Regions from separate parts of the Homo sapiens genome. Here regions 1 and 3 are each linked to region 2. The links are contacts of gene promoters, found by promoter capture Hi-C in blood cells and fetal thymus (Javierre and others, 2016). All regions are on one chromosome and are shown on one strand. Each heading gives the region's core, a stretch centred on a gene start or on the middle of the fragment in contact. The rest is flanking DNA. Distances are from core to core; before and after follow the strand shown.

Region 1 (4,006 bases), core at 80-2,579, 140 kb before region 2:
CATCCATTCCAGGAGGAGCCCAAAGCTAAGAAAGCAGGCTTGGCAGATATGTAGGCAACTGGAGTGGCTTAGGTTTTGAAGTCAGAAAAAACTTGCATTTAAATCCTGCTCTTTAATATACTCTTGGGTTACCTTGGGCATAATTACCCCAGCCTCAGTTTCCTCATCTGTAAAATGGGCACAGTGATTGCTATTTTGCAGGGTGTGTGGCAATCAATGAAGATAAAATAGAAGGCCCTTTCACTGGAAGCTCTGTACAGAAGAGCTCTGTATAGCTCTGTCTTGTTTCACTATTGCAGCCCCAAAGCCTGCTGTGTCAGACACACAGTGGGTGCTCAAAATATCTGTGAATGAATGGGTGTATAAAACTGTAGAGGACTTTTATGGGTTTTCTGCCCAGTGCACAGCCCCCTTCTTGTGATAACAGAACTACTAGATTATTTAGGGGAAGCCCCTCCCCATATCTGTTCCATGCCACTCCAAAGAAAGTTGACCTCACGTCCATCTTCGGGGGTGGAGCTTGCAACTTAGGCTCGGCCAAGTAGTGTATTTCATTCCCTGGCTACAGTGATTGGCTCAGGGCTGTGTATATAATCTGAGGTGGGCCAGTCAGAGTGAGTCTTAGGGCTCTTTGTTCAGAGTGCTGAGCAGGAGATCTAGAGAGACTTACTGGTGGCTGTCTTGCCTCTGGAGGGGACACACTGCCTGCGAATTAGGCCTGTCCAAGGAAGTGATGCTGAGAGGTGGCAAGAGAGAAACAGGGCCCAGTGACATGTAAGCCTGCCTCAAGCTGAACCTGAAGCCAGACTCTTCCAGAGACTTTCCGGCCATGTGAGCCAATGCATTCTGCCTTAAGCCATTTTAGAAAAGATTTTCTGACCTTGAAAACTTGCACATTCTAATTGACATATGGCGCAGAGTTTGGGGGTTCATGACACACTTCCTGGGAGTCGTGGTTTTTGTGGCTTCCTCCACGCTCAGCTGGGAGGTTGCCTCCCCTTGGGATGATGTAAATGCAGGCTTTGGGATATGAAACTCTGTGAGTTGAGGAGTTTGTGGCTCTGCATTCTAGCTCTTGGTGTCCCCAGAACACTACAAGTCCTGCAAATCGAGGATTGAGCTCTGATAGGCCTCACCTGTAGAAGCTATAATGCCCCTTCCCAAGATGCTTGATCTTAAAGCTGTCTGAGTAGTCAGGAATCTTGATCCTCTTCAGCTCCTTCTGCAGAGCGGCCGTCCCCTGCTGGCTGGCTGAAGGGAGAAGGCAGGGGTGACAGTGAGAGGCACAGCCTGGAGCAGGGGACAGAGGGGCAGGGCAGGCTCTGGACCCTGGGCCCCTGTTCGTAGCATGGACAGTGGCACTGGAAGGGTCAAAAACAGGGATCAATTAAGGTTTCCTAGAAAAGGCCAAATAGTAAACTGACCCTTTATAGGAAACCATATTGCCTCTGTCACAAATACTCAGCTCTGCCATTACTGCACAAAACAGCCATAGACAATATCATGTTCTTATATGTGCCTGTATTCCAATAACACTTTATTTGTTGGCATTGAAATGAGAATTTCATATAATTTTCACATGTTGTGAGATAGTATTTTTCTTCTTTTGTTGTTGTTTTGAGACAGGGTCTCGCTGTGTCGCCCAGGCTGGAGTGCAGAGGCATGATCACGGCTCACTGCAACCTCGACCCGCTGCACTTAGGTCATTCTCCCACCTCAGCCTCCCTAGCAGCTGGGATCACAGGTGTTCGCCACCACACCAGGCTAACTTTTTAAAAATTTTTTTTTAACATTTTTGCAGAGATCTGGGGTTTCACCATGTTGCCCAGCTGGTTTCGAACTCCTGGGCTCAAGTGATCCTCTCACCTCAGCCTCCCAAAGTGCTGGAGTTACAGGCATGAGCCACCATGACCGGCCCTTTTGATTTTTTTCCCATCATTTAAAGACATTAAGGCCATTTTTGTCTTATAAGCCATACAAAAACGGAGGGCTGTAGTTTGCTGACCCCTGGTCTAAAATATCACCCCTGAAACACCCAGTTATGCCTCCTGCTAGTTTTTGTTGGATACTTAATTTGTTATTTGCTCTATGCTACACCCCCACAGATCTCCCACCTCTCTGGGTTTTGGACTGTCTCCCCAGGGCCTTTGCACATGCTATTCTTGCTCCCTAAGAAATTCTTCCCTCCCATATTCACCCGGTCAGCTTCTAGTCAGCTCATTCATCACTTCCTCTGGGAACCCTCCCTGGCTTAGTAGATCAGAGCAACGCCCTGTGTTATTCTCATGATGCTGTGGACTGCTCTTTCGGAGCCCCTGTTACCATTTGTAATTATGCATTTATTCACGTGACTCTGACGAATGTCTCTCCCCTATTACATGTAAGCCCCCTGAAGTCAGCAGCAATCTGTTTTATTTACTCGTGTGTCCCTTACATTCCCATTGTGCCTGACACTTTGAAGGCACTTAAGATTTGTTAGATGAGGCTGGGTGCGGTGGCTCACGCCTGTAATCCCAGCACTTTGGAAAGCCAAGGCAAGTGGATCACTTTAGGTCAAGAGTTCAAGAGTTCAGCCTGGCCAACATGGTGAAACCCCGTCTCTACTAAAAATACAAAAAATTAGCTGGGTGTGATGGTGCACGCCTGTAATCCCAGCTACTTGGGAGGTTGAGGCAGGAGAATCACTTGAACCCCGGAGGCAGAGGTTGCAGTGAGCTGAGATGGCACCATTGCACTCCAGCCTGGGCCACAGAGCGAGACTCGGTCTCAAAACAAAACAAAAAAAGATTTATTAGATGAATAAATAATGTCCTAATGGCAGGAATTCTACCACCAGTTATAATGTGGCTAACAGCATCAAAGAACCAATTAAAAGGCAGACACATTACCTGAAAAGGAGTAAGTAGTAAGATGAGGGAGCCCAGACTTTGGGTTTTCTCGGAGCCAGTTAGGAAATAATAATATCAATGAAATGTATCGAGCTTTACTCTGTGCCAAGCACTGTTCTAGGCTCCGTATATGTATGAATTTGTACAATCCTAGGAAGTAGGTCCTGTCACTACCCCCATTTCACAGATAAGGAAGCTGAGGCTCAGAAAGCTGAGGTGACTTGCTAGGGGCCACACAGCGGACAAGGGGCAGAATTTGAACCCAGGCCTTCTGGTCCCAGAGCCCATGCCCTAGAGAAGGCTTTCTGGGGGTTCAAAAGTAAATGACACATAACTGGTCACTGTGTGGAGGGAAAAAAAAATGTGCAGTGGCCAGGATCTGTAAGTTGACAGGGGCCAGGCCTCGAAGGGTCTCAAATGCCATGCCAAAGGGTCAGGATAGCTTCTGAAGGCAGTAGGGAGCCATGGAGAATGTGAGCCAGGGGAGGATGTGTAGGGATTTGCTGCATTTCAGAAAACTCACTCCGATTGGCACAAGGGGCCTGGGTAGAAGGGGAAACTCAGGCTGCTATGACGGAGCATGAAGACCACTGAACTTAAAGACCCTGACTGAGCCTCTGTGTCGACAGGCTTCAGGGCCATACTCCTTCCCCCTAGCTCTTCTGTCTTCTGTGGCCTTCTGTCTGCAGCTCTAGGATTCAGTGATGTCCTGCTGGGCTGGGGTGGGAATTCAGGGGTGGGATACCAGGTCCCCTGAGTCCTGTCTGTTTTCCCAACGCACCCCAACTGGTGAGGCTCTGCCTTCCCCTTGGTCTGATTTCCCTGGGGCTGGGTGTCACCCACTGTTTTGCAGGTCATCTCTCTGCCATCGGGAGGCAGCATCGAGCAACCCCGTGCTGGGGCATCAGGCAAGACCAGAGCTCAAATCCAGGCTGCCCACTTCTCACGTGTAAATGTGGATAGCAGCAGTTTGTCTTACACAAGGCTGAAGTGAGGGTAAAAGAGACTGTGTGTGTAAAGTTCCTAGCTCAATGCCTGGCACAGGTTAGAGCAGGTCTTTCTCTCCTCTGCCTGGGCTGGGGTGAGTGGTCTGGGGGGACCCTCTTTGTGTCACCCAG
Region 2 (3,772 bases), core at 1-2,500:
GCTCAGGGCTCACAGTGGATCCGGAAGCACAGGAGACCAAGAGACCAGAGATACCAGGATGAGAGATAGGACCCCTGGTTGCCAGGTTCGAGAAGTCCTAGGCTGAGTCCCTGGAAAGTTAGTCTTGCTCCTTTCTGGCACACAGTGGGGCCTCAAGAAAGCTCAGTGGATGGATGGATTGAGGGAGGGAGGGAAGAGAAGGCCGAGGGAGGGATGGATGAAGGGATGAGTGGATGGATAGGTGGGGGGGTAGGTGATGCATGGGTGAGTGGATGGATGGGTAGATGGATGGCTGATTAGATGGATGGCTGATTAGACAGATACAAGGATGGGTGAGATCGGAGGATTATCTGGGTTTTGCTACAGGAAGGGACATGGGTGTGTCTGTTTTTGCAGGTGTGTCTGCATGTCTGTACCTGAGTCCATGCCTGCATGTGTGTCTACCTCTGAGTAGCCACATCTTTGTGTGTCTGTGGGTGCCCTCTCTGATTTTGCGTCCACATCTGACAGTGGCATTGGTGTCTAGGAGGTCTGTGTGTGTGCCAGGTGCCTCTGGACACCTGCTCATCTGTGTCCACAGCTGTGTGTGGCTCGCGGTCAAGGCTACCTGGCTGTGTCAGGCTGTATCTATGTCCTGGTGTGTGTCTGCCATTCGAATCTGAATTTGTATCCATGTCACTGTGTCTGCGTGGCCAGCCGTGTTTGGTGTATCTGTGGGAGTGTATCTGTGTTTGTGTGTGTATCTCCACAGCCCTGTCTTGGTGTGTCTGCGTCTGCTCTCTGTGTATGTATATCTGAGTATGTGTGTGAGTGTGTGCGTGTGTGTGTGTGTGTGTGTGTGTGTGTGTTGGGGGTGGGGAGGTGTTCTTGATCCCAGATCTGACCTAAGAGTCCACATCTGTGTGTCCAGGTGCACCCCGGTTCCGTTGTGTGTTTCTATGAGGGTGCTGCGTGTGTCTGTATCTGAGTGTGTGTGTCCAGGTGTCTGTTCTCCAAGGTCTGAGTCTGTGGGTCCAGGTGTGTCTGTATCCTGGGCTAGTTGTGTGTCCCTGTCCGCTCCCCCAGGGGGCGCCCTCGTCCGGCCGCCGTCCCTCCCTCGGGCTCCGGTCCCCTGGGTGAGCCCCAGCGCTGGCGGCGTGGGCCCGGGACTGGGCAATGGGTGGCCTCCCAGGTCGCCGCCTTCCCGCGGGGCCCCGCCCCCGGCCCGCCCCAAAGCGGGCTATAAGTTAGCGCCGCTCTCCGCCTCGGCAGTGCCAGCCGCCAGTGGTCGCACTTGGAGGGTCTCGCCGCCAGTGGAAGGAGCCACCGCCCCCGCCCGACCATGGCCGAGGGTGAGTATCAGAGTCACCGCAGCCGCCACTCAGGGGCCCCGGGGCATTGGGGGTCAGGACCCGGTGGGAGCTGAATCCCTAAGTCCTGATTTGGAGAGCAACAGGCAGACCGGGCTGGGTGAGGAGGCGTCTCAATGCTGCTTGGAGCCTCAGTTTCCCCATCCACACTGCATAACCATTAACCCTTGCCTCCCTGGATCAGGTGAGGCAATGGAACGCGACGGGGTGTTGTAAACTGTAAAGTACTGTCCTGGCGGACCACTGGCACGTGTCCTCAGTCAGTCAGTGGGGGCTGGCTCTCTGATGTGTGCCTGGAGCTGTGCAGGGGGTGCTGGCCTGGCCTCAGAACACTTAGGTTTGGGTGGTTCTTGCCAGCCAGGACCAGGTGGTGTGCATGCCACGCCGGTGGTGTGCAAGCCAAGCCTGGCTGAGTCCTTGGCTCCAGCGGCCAGAGAGGAGCTTTCGGCATCCTATCCAGGAGCCTTCGGAAATCAGGCTTGTTCTTCCCGCCCTCACGTTCTGCAACCCTAGACCTTGGCCAATTGTTGAGTCTCACCTATAAAATAAGGACAACAGTGTCCTTATTTTATAGGACAAGGTTTATGAGATTTGTTTTCCCCCAAGACCCCCACCCATCTGTCACCCTGACCGTGCCCTGGTCCTCTGCTCCAGCCTTTGGTGCATCTGTGAGGAACGAGAGGAGTGGAACAGAGGCTTAACTAATTTCATACTGGTGCCCCTGACTCCCTCCCCACACACAAGCAGCACTCTCGTAGGTCCCAGCTGGAGGGATTTCTACAATGGAGGATGTCACTGCTGGACCCAGAATCCCAGCTGGCTCTTGGGTCAAGTTCATCTGGGGATGGCTTCTGCACCCATTGCAACCCCCAGGAAGGGGTGTGGGACAGGGACATGGGGCAGGTGGAGCAGGAATGGGTGGCAGGAACTGTGGACCCACCTGACCCTGCTGTGTGATCTCAGCCACCTGCCTCCCTCGGGCCCAGCTCCCAACACACTGTGATGTGTCGCCTCGGTGGCCGCTTGTCCTCAATGCATCTTCTCACCCCCATGCTCAAAAGCAGGGCTCAGTGGGGCTGGGAGATCCTGGAGATGCCAGTTATGATGAGCCTCCAGCCCCATGTCACAGTGGCCACTTCTGACAGAGGTCTCACTGGCCTAGAAGGCCTAGGCCCTTTCTAAGTGCAGAAATCCTATAAATCCTACAATTCTAGACCTGCATCTTTGGAGCTGGGCGTGATTTCTGGAAACCCTTCTTCGGACAACAGATGGAGAAAATGCCCCAGCTCCCACAGCCCAGGGACTGGCCGTATCTCCAGGGTCTTCCATGGGAACAACAATGGCCTCTTTCCTGCTCAAGCTCCCTGGGTCTGAAGTTTCCAAAAACATTTCCTCGCCGCAATAGGCCAGCAGGAAGTTTTTCCTTCTGGCCACTGAGGTCTCTTCTGTTGTGATTACACGGGGACCGACATCCCTGATACTTCAGTGGCGCAGAACTATCTGCCCCCAGGTTTGAGAACAACACAGGACATGGTGGCGAAGGGGTGGTCATAAGAGGGGCTGGAGAAAAAACTGAGCTGTAGTGAGGTGGTTCCCAGGGCAGAATCCTACAGAATCCTACAGCTCTGGATTCCAATCCCAAAGCAGCCACTTGCTCTGGGACCTGGAGCCACCTGGTGTCTTTGTCTACAAAATGGGAATCATGATAGCATCTATGTAAGCGGAGTTGTTTTGGGATTTAAGTCGAGATAATTCACATACAAGGCACTTTGCATCTCATTTTTGGAATAGTCGATGGTGAGCAGGAGACCTGGGCTCTCCCACTGCAAGGACCAACTTGCGGCGTGACTTTGAACAAATTCCTGCCCCTGGGCCTCACTTGGACCACATGCTGTCCAGTGGCTCCACACTCAGAGTCTGTCTTGCCCACTCCTCCCACCTTAAGGGCTTCCCCATCCTGACCTTGAGCTTGCCAAGGTTTATGAGATTTGTTTTCCCCCAAGACCCCCACCCATCTGTCACCCTGACCGTGCCCTGGTCCTCTGCTCCATCTGAAACTGTAAATGGAACTTTCACGTATCAAGCTTCTGTCCTGGGCTGGGCCGTGGGGAAGGGGGTTCCCAACACATCTTCTAGACTCACAGCAGCCCCTTGAGACTTCAGAGGAGGAGTCACAGAGAGGGAGAGACACTTATCCAGGCTCACACAGCAACACAGCAGAACTAAAACCTACCTCTGGAAGTCTCCAAAGCACCTATCATGTTAAAAATGTTTTGTTTTGGAGAATATTGAACATACACAAAAATAGACAGAATTGTTTAATAAATTCCTATGTCCTCATCACCCAGCACTGACCACCGTGGTGTCTCCTGCCCCTGCGCACCTTCATCTCAGACATCACATCATGTCATCTGTCAATGTTT
Region 3 (4,101 bases), core at 1,005-3,504, 210 kb before region 2:
CTCTGTCCCGCTTATAAGGAGGTTTCCCGTGCTCCAAAGAGCTGTCCCAGCCCCCAACCCTCATTAGAGCCCTGGAGGGAGATGAGGCCAACTTCAACGATCCCATGTCACAGGCAGGTCACTAAGCTCAGAGAGAAGTGACTTGCCCACGGTCATACAGCCCCCAGGAGAGCCCTGTTTTCCAAGTCCAACTCTCTTTCCTCCAGACAGCAGTGTTCACTTTTGACTTGGAAAAATCCACAGTGATTCTTACCATTGAACTTGGGGTAGAAGGTGTTAAGGATGTAATAGTTGAGGAGCGCTTCCAACAGCTCTGCCTGGAAGAGAACAGGAGAGATATATTTACATCGCCACAGGGCCACATGGTGGTTCTGTGTGTGCCAACATAGCAAAACGCTTGGGAAAAGCAAACTAGTATTACATCATGCTACTATTTTATAAGATAAAACTCTTTTGAGATGAACATTTGGTATGCAAGTGAATAGAAAAATTTTGGAAAGTTACACACCCGACAGTCTTTCCTCTAAAGGAAGAACATCAACATTTGACATGTCCTTAGCCTTATCTTTAGTATCGGTTTTATTTACAGTGAGAATGTTTTTCCTGAACTACCTACATAATTTAAAAAATTTAATAAAAACAAAATAAGCTTCTCTACCAAAATCATGAAACACAACTTCTAACCCCCACTATATGCCAAGCAGAGAGCTCAGAGCTTTACGTGCATGTCTGATTCAATCTTCACAACAACCCCTCAAAGTTCATATTAATGTCCCTATTCCATATATCGGGAAACTGAGGCCTACAGAATGAAAGGGACTTACTACAAACTGGGCAGCAGCATCAGGATTCGAATCTAAATGTATCTGAGTCTGTAGTTTTTGTTTTTACATTTCATGCTCTGAAAACCCGACAGGATGGATTTTTGTGAAACTTCTCACTTGAATGTTTTACTTTGCAGTAAACACGCACAGATACAATATGAGTGCACCATTATTCACTCCACCCTTTATTCTCTGAAAGGAGTTAGCTTCAGGGTCCCTGCATCTCTCCCCACCGCCTCTGTGTTTGTTTCCACTTCATAAGTGCTTCGGGAAAGTCTGGGAGGCAGGGCACAGGTGGAGGTGGTCAGTGGAGGCCAGCATCATGGAATGGTAAAAGAGAAGCCAACGACTACACATTAAAGTCTACCCAGCTCCTCCTTCCCTCTTTCCAGAAAGCTCTTCTCCATAACTTTGGCCCACACTGATTTTCACGTTCTCTTTCCTCCTTTTATTTGGGGCCGTCTACTTCACCACTTTTTCTACCTTGTGGAAATCACTTCTTGGATTTACCTGCTCAGCACTCAATCCCTCTTGTTTTGATAACGGAGTCTATTTTCCCCCAGGGAACAACCCTCCTTGCCAGTCTTGGTCCATGTGCTTTGGATGTAGCTGACTGCAAATCCTGCCTCCTGGAGTGTAGATGAGATCCATGCTGGGCTGACTTCTGGCCACAGTGCTTGGCTTAAGACTGGGTGCCTAAGATTAGTCCAATGAGAGCTAGCACAGAGATTTTGTGTGTGTGTGTGCAAATTTTTTAAAAAACTGAAACTGTAGGAAACTCTGGGGCTTGCTACCAATTGGAAGAGCCTGCCTGAGAGTGAAGCTAACACAAATGAAAACAGAACAGAGAGATGGAGAGAGATTCTTGATGCACTAATTAGAACACCTGGATCCAGCTATGCCTGAAACCTCTGGTCTTAGTTTTTTCGTTTATTTTTGCTTTTCAATTATATAATCCTATATATTTCTCCTCTTTGCTTAAGATGATTTCAATTGGCTTTCTGTCTCTTGCAGTTAAGAGAATTCTGTTCAGTAGATGACTTAATTATATATTGTTTTATACTAGGATATAACTGTTCCTTGGCCCTATGTCTTGTGTTTTCGAGACCTTTTACACTTCTGCAGGGCAAAAAATCAACTCTTCTCCTTTTGTATTTCCTATTATAGGTGCCATAGCAATTGCTTAGGAAACACCCCAAATTAATTAACATTCTAATCATGTCATCAATAAAAACAACTTACATTGAATAGTCCAACTTTGGATTCTTTCAGTTCCACTTTTACCCTGTAATGAATCAGAGAAGATTAAAAGGTGTGGGCTTTATGCAAGTTTAAGCAATGCGGGGGTCCCCAGAAGCGAGAAAGGATGGGCTTGAGAAGGCACAGGGCCAAAGGTAGGGCGGGAGCAGGAGTGGAAAAGATGACTGAGGAACTAAAAGCAGTGATACAATGACATCGGGAAGACTGTCACAGGGCAGATGAGATAGTGTCAAAAAGCTCACTCTTTATCATTTCAGGAAGTTCATATAGCTGGCTTCTAAAATTCATACATTAAGAAGTAACAGTCTTAGTGAATTCTTTAACAATTTGAGATTTGTGGGGGCAGGACCAGTGGGGCAGAAGAATTGGGCCAATTGGGGTGAAATGTAAGTGTCCTTTCCAAATGGTGGCCCCCCCTCCCACCAGCTACAGAGAAGCAGCTACAGCATACAGATGGAGTCCAGCTGGGCACCCCCATGTAGGTAGGAGGCCAACTTACTTTCCTGGCTTCAGGAACCCAGTGATCTTGCTGGTATTGAAGGTCAAGGTGGCGGACACATTAGTGGCCTGGAAATGCCAGAAGAAGGAAGCAGGTGTAAGTGATGAAGGTTGTATGTATAGGAAGGATGATGACGAGGGACCAACTGTCTCCTCTCAACAAACAGCTCAATGAGCTAAAGCAGGAAATTTGCCCACTAGATCATAGACTCCCAGAAGGCTCACTGTAGGTGCTCAAACAATATTTGAACTTGGACTTGAACATTTTTACTTGAAATTGTTGTTTATGTTAGCAGTTAAACTTTGAACAGACTACTAAGAGAAGGTATAGAGTACCTACCCTTGGAAAGCTCTAAAAAGGATCATTTCTAGTTATCTCAGGTCAAGATTCAGCCCTAGTAACAACATTAATAAATTATTATTATTGTTTTAGAGATGGAGTCTCTGTCTGTCGCCCAGCTGGAGTGCAGTGGTGCAATCATGGCTCACTGCAGCCTCAATCTCCTGGGCTCAAGCGATCCTCCCACATCAACCCCCTGAGTAGATAGGACTACAGGTGCATGCCACCAGGCCTGGCTATTTGTTTTTTCTTTTTTGTAGCAATGGAGTCTTGCTGTGTTGCCCAGGCTGCTCTCAAACTCCTGGCCTTGTGTGATTCTCCTGCCTTGACCTCCCAAAGTGCTGAGATTACAGATGTGAGCCACCACACCCAGACAGTAAATTATATTTTAATTTAAAATATATTAATAATGACACTTTTGATAACAATAACAACAATATTAAATTGCAGATATAGCCTCTAGGAAGAATTACCCTGGTAGAGATTTGACTTGTTGATTTCAAAAGTCAAGAAACAAGAGAGCAGAGTTCTCCATCCAGGGAGCAAGGCCCCCAAAGGACCCAACATCCCTTCCCTATTAGACAGAGTCCATCAAAAAAGGAAAACTGACTCTCAATGTTTAACGCAGAGGGAATTTAATACGGGGAATTGGTTATACAAGTGATGGAATTGTTGAGAAGCTAGTAAAGAGTTGGTGAGGCCACCCAGAGATTATCCAGAGACAGGAGGCTGTATCCACCCCAGGACTAGAGGAACAAAGAGTGGAGGTGGAATTATGGAAGTCACCATGAGGAGACATAGTCACAGCCAGAGCCTCTGCCGTGGTAAAGAAAGAGGAAATAGTACTCTGGCTTCATCCTTCCTCCCCGCCATCATTCTCCTGACAGTACCTCCCATTGGTTGACCTGGGTGGAAATCAAAGTGCAAAGAAGCTTGGGAAATGTAGTCTTCCAAGGTCAAAATAGACAAATAGACAAACACCAGTATACCTTTCTCCCCACAATAGCCCAGACTCACATAGTGAGAGATACATGCATTAAACAAATACACCTGCAGACAGCTACAAAGTATCTTTGTAGTAAACGCTGAGAAGAAAGATAATGGGGTGTTACAAGAAAAAGTGGCAAGGGGCGTAAGGTAGATTGGGGGTAAGGGCCAGCAAGAAAGCCCTCTCTCGGG

What was found. The method cuts DNA at HindIII sites, captures the fragments that hold promoters and counts their contacts. A CHiCAGO score of 5 or more calls a contact.
Region 1: a fragment that was not itself captured here is called in contact with the fragment with the promoter of TGM2 in region 2 in 3 of 17 cell types (neutrophils, monocytes and M0 macrophages); the score reaches 9.0 in neutrophils.
Region 3: a fragment that was not itself captured here is called in contact with the fragment with the promoter of TGM2 in region 2 in 1 of 17 cell types (monocytes); the score reaches 5.4 in monocytes.

Annotation. Positions count from the first base shown.
Region 1 is chr20:38,304,812-38,308,817 of GRCh38, reverse strand. BPI (bactericidal permeability increasing protein) reads right to left here. Exons shown (of 15, transcript NM_001725.3): 2 at 1,137-1,251. Among named protein-coding and RNA genes, the nearest start is that of BPI, 2.7 kb to the right of the region's middle. The HindIII fragment of the contact is 8,601 bases long and covers 1-4,006 here.
Region 2 is chr20:38,162,748-38,166,519 of GRCh38, reverse strand. It overlaps TGM2 (transglutaminase 2), which reads left to right and starts at 1,250. Exons shown (of 13, transcript NM_004613.4): 1 at 1,250-1,331. The coding sequence starts at 1,322. RefSeq lists a silencer at 958-1,397. The HindIII fragment of the contact is 3,789 bases long and covers 1-3,435 here.
Region 3 is chr20:38,369,288-38,373,388 of GRCh38, reverse strand. It overlaps LBP (lipopolysaccharide binding protein), which reads right to left. Exons shown (of 15, transcript NM_004139.5): 11 at 2,584-2,651; 12 at 2,067-2,109; 13 at 254-317. Among named protein-coding and RNA genes, the nearest start is that of LBP, 25 kb to the right of the region's middle. The HindIII fragment of the contact is 3,205 bases long and covers 652-3,856 here.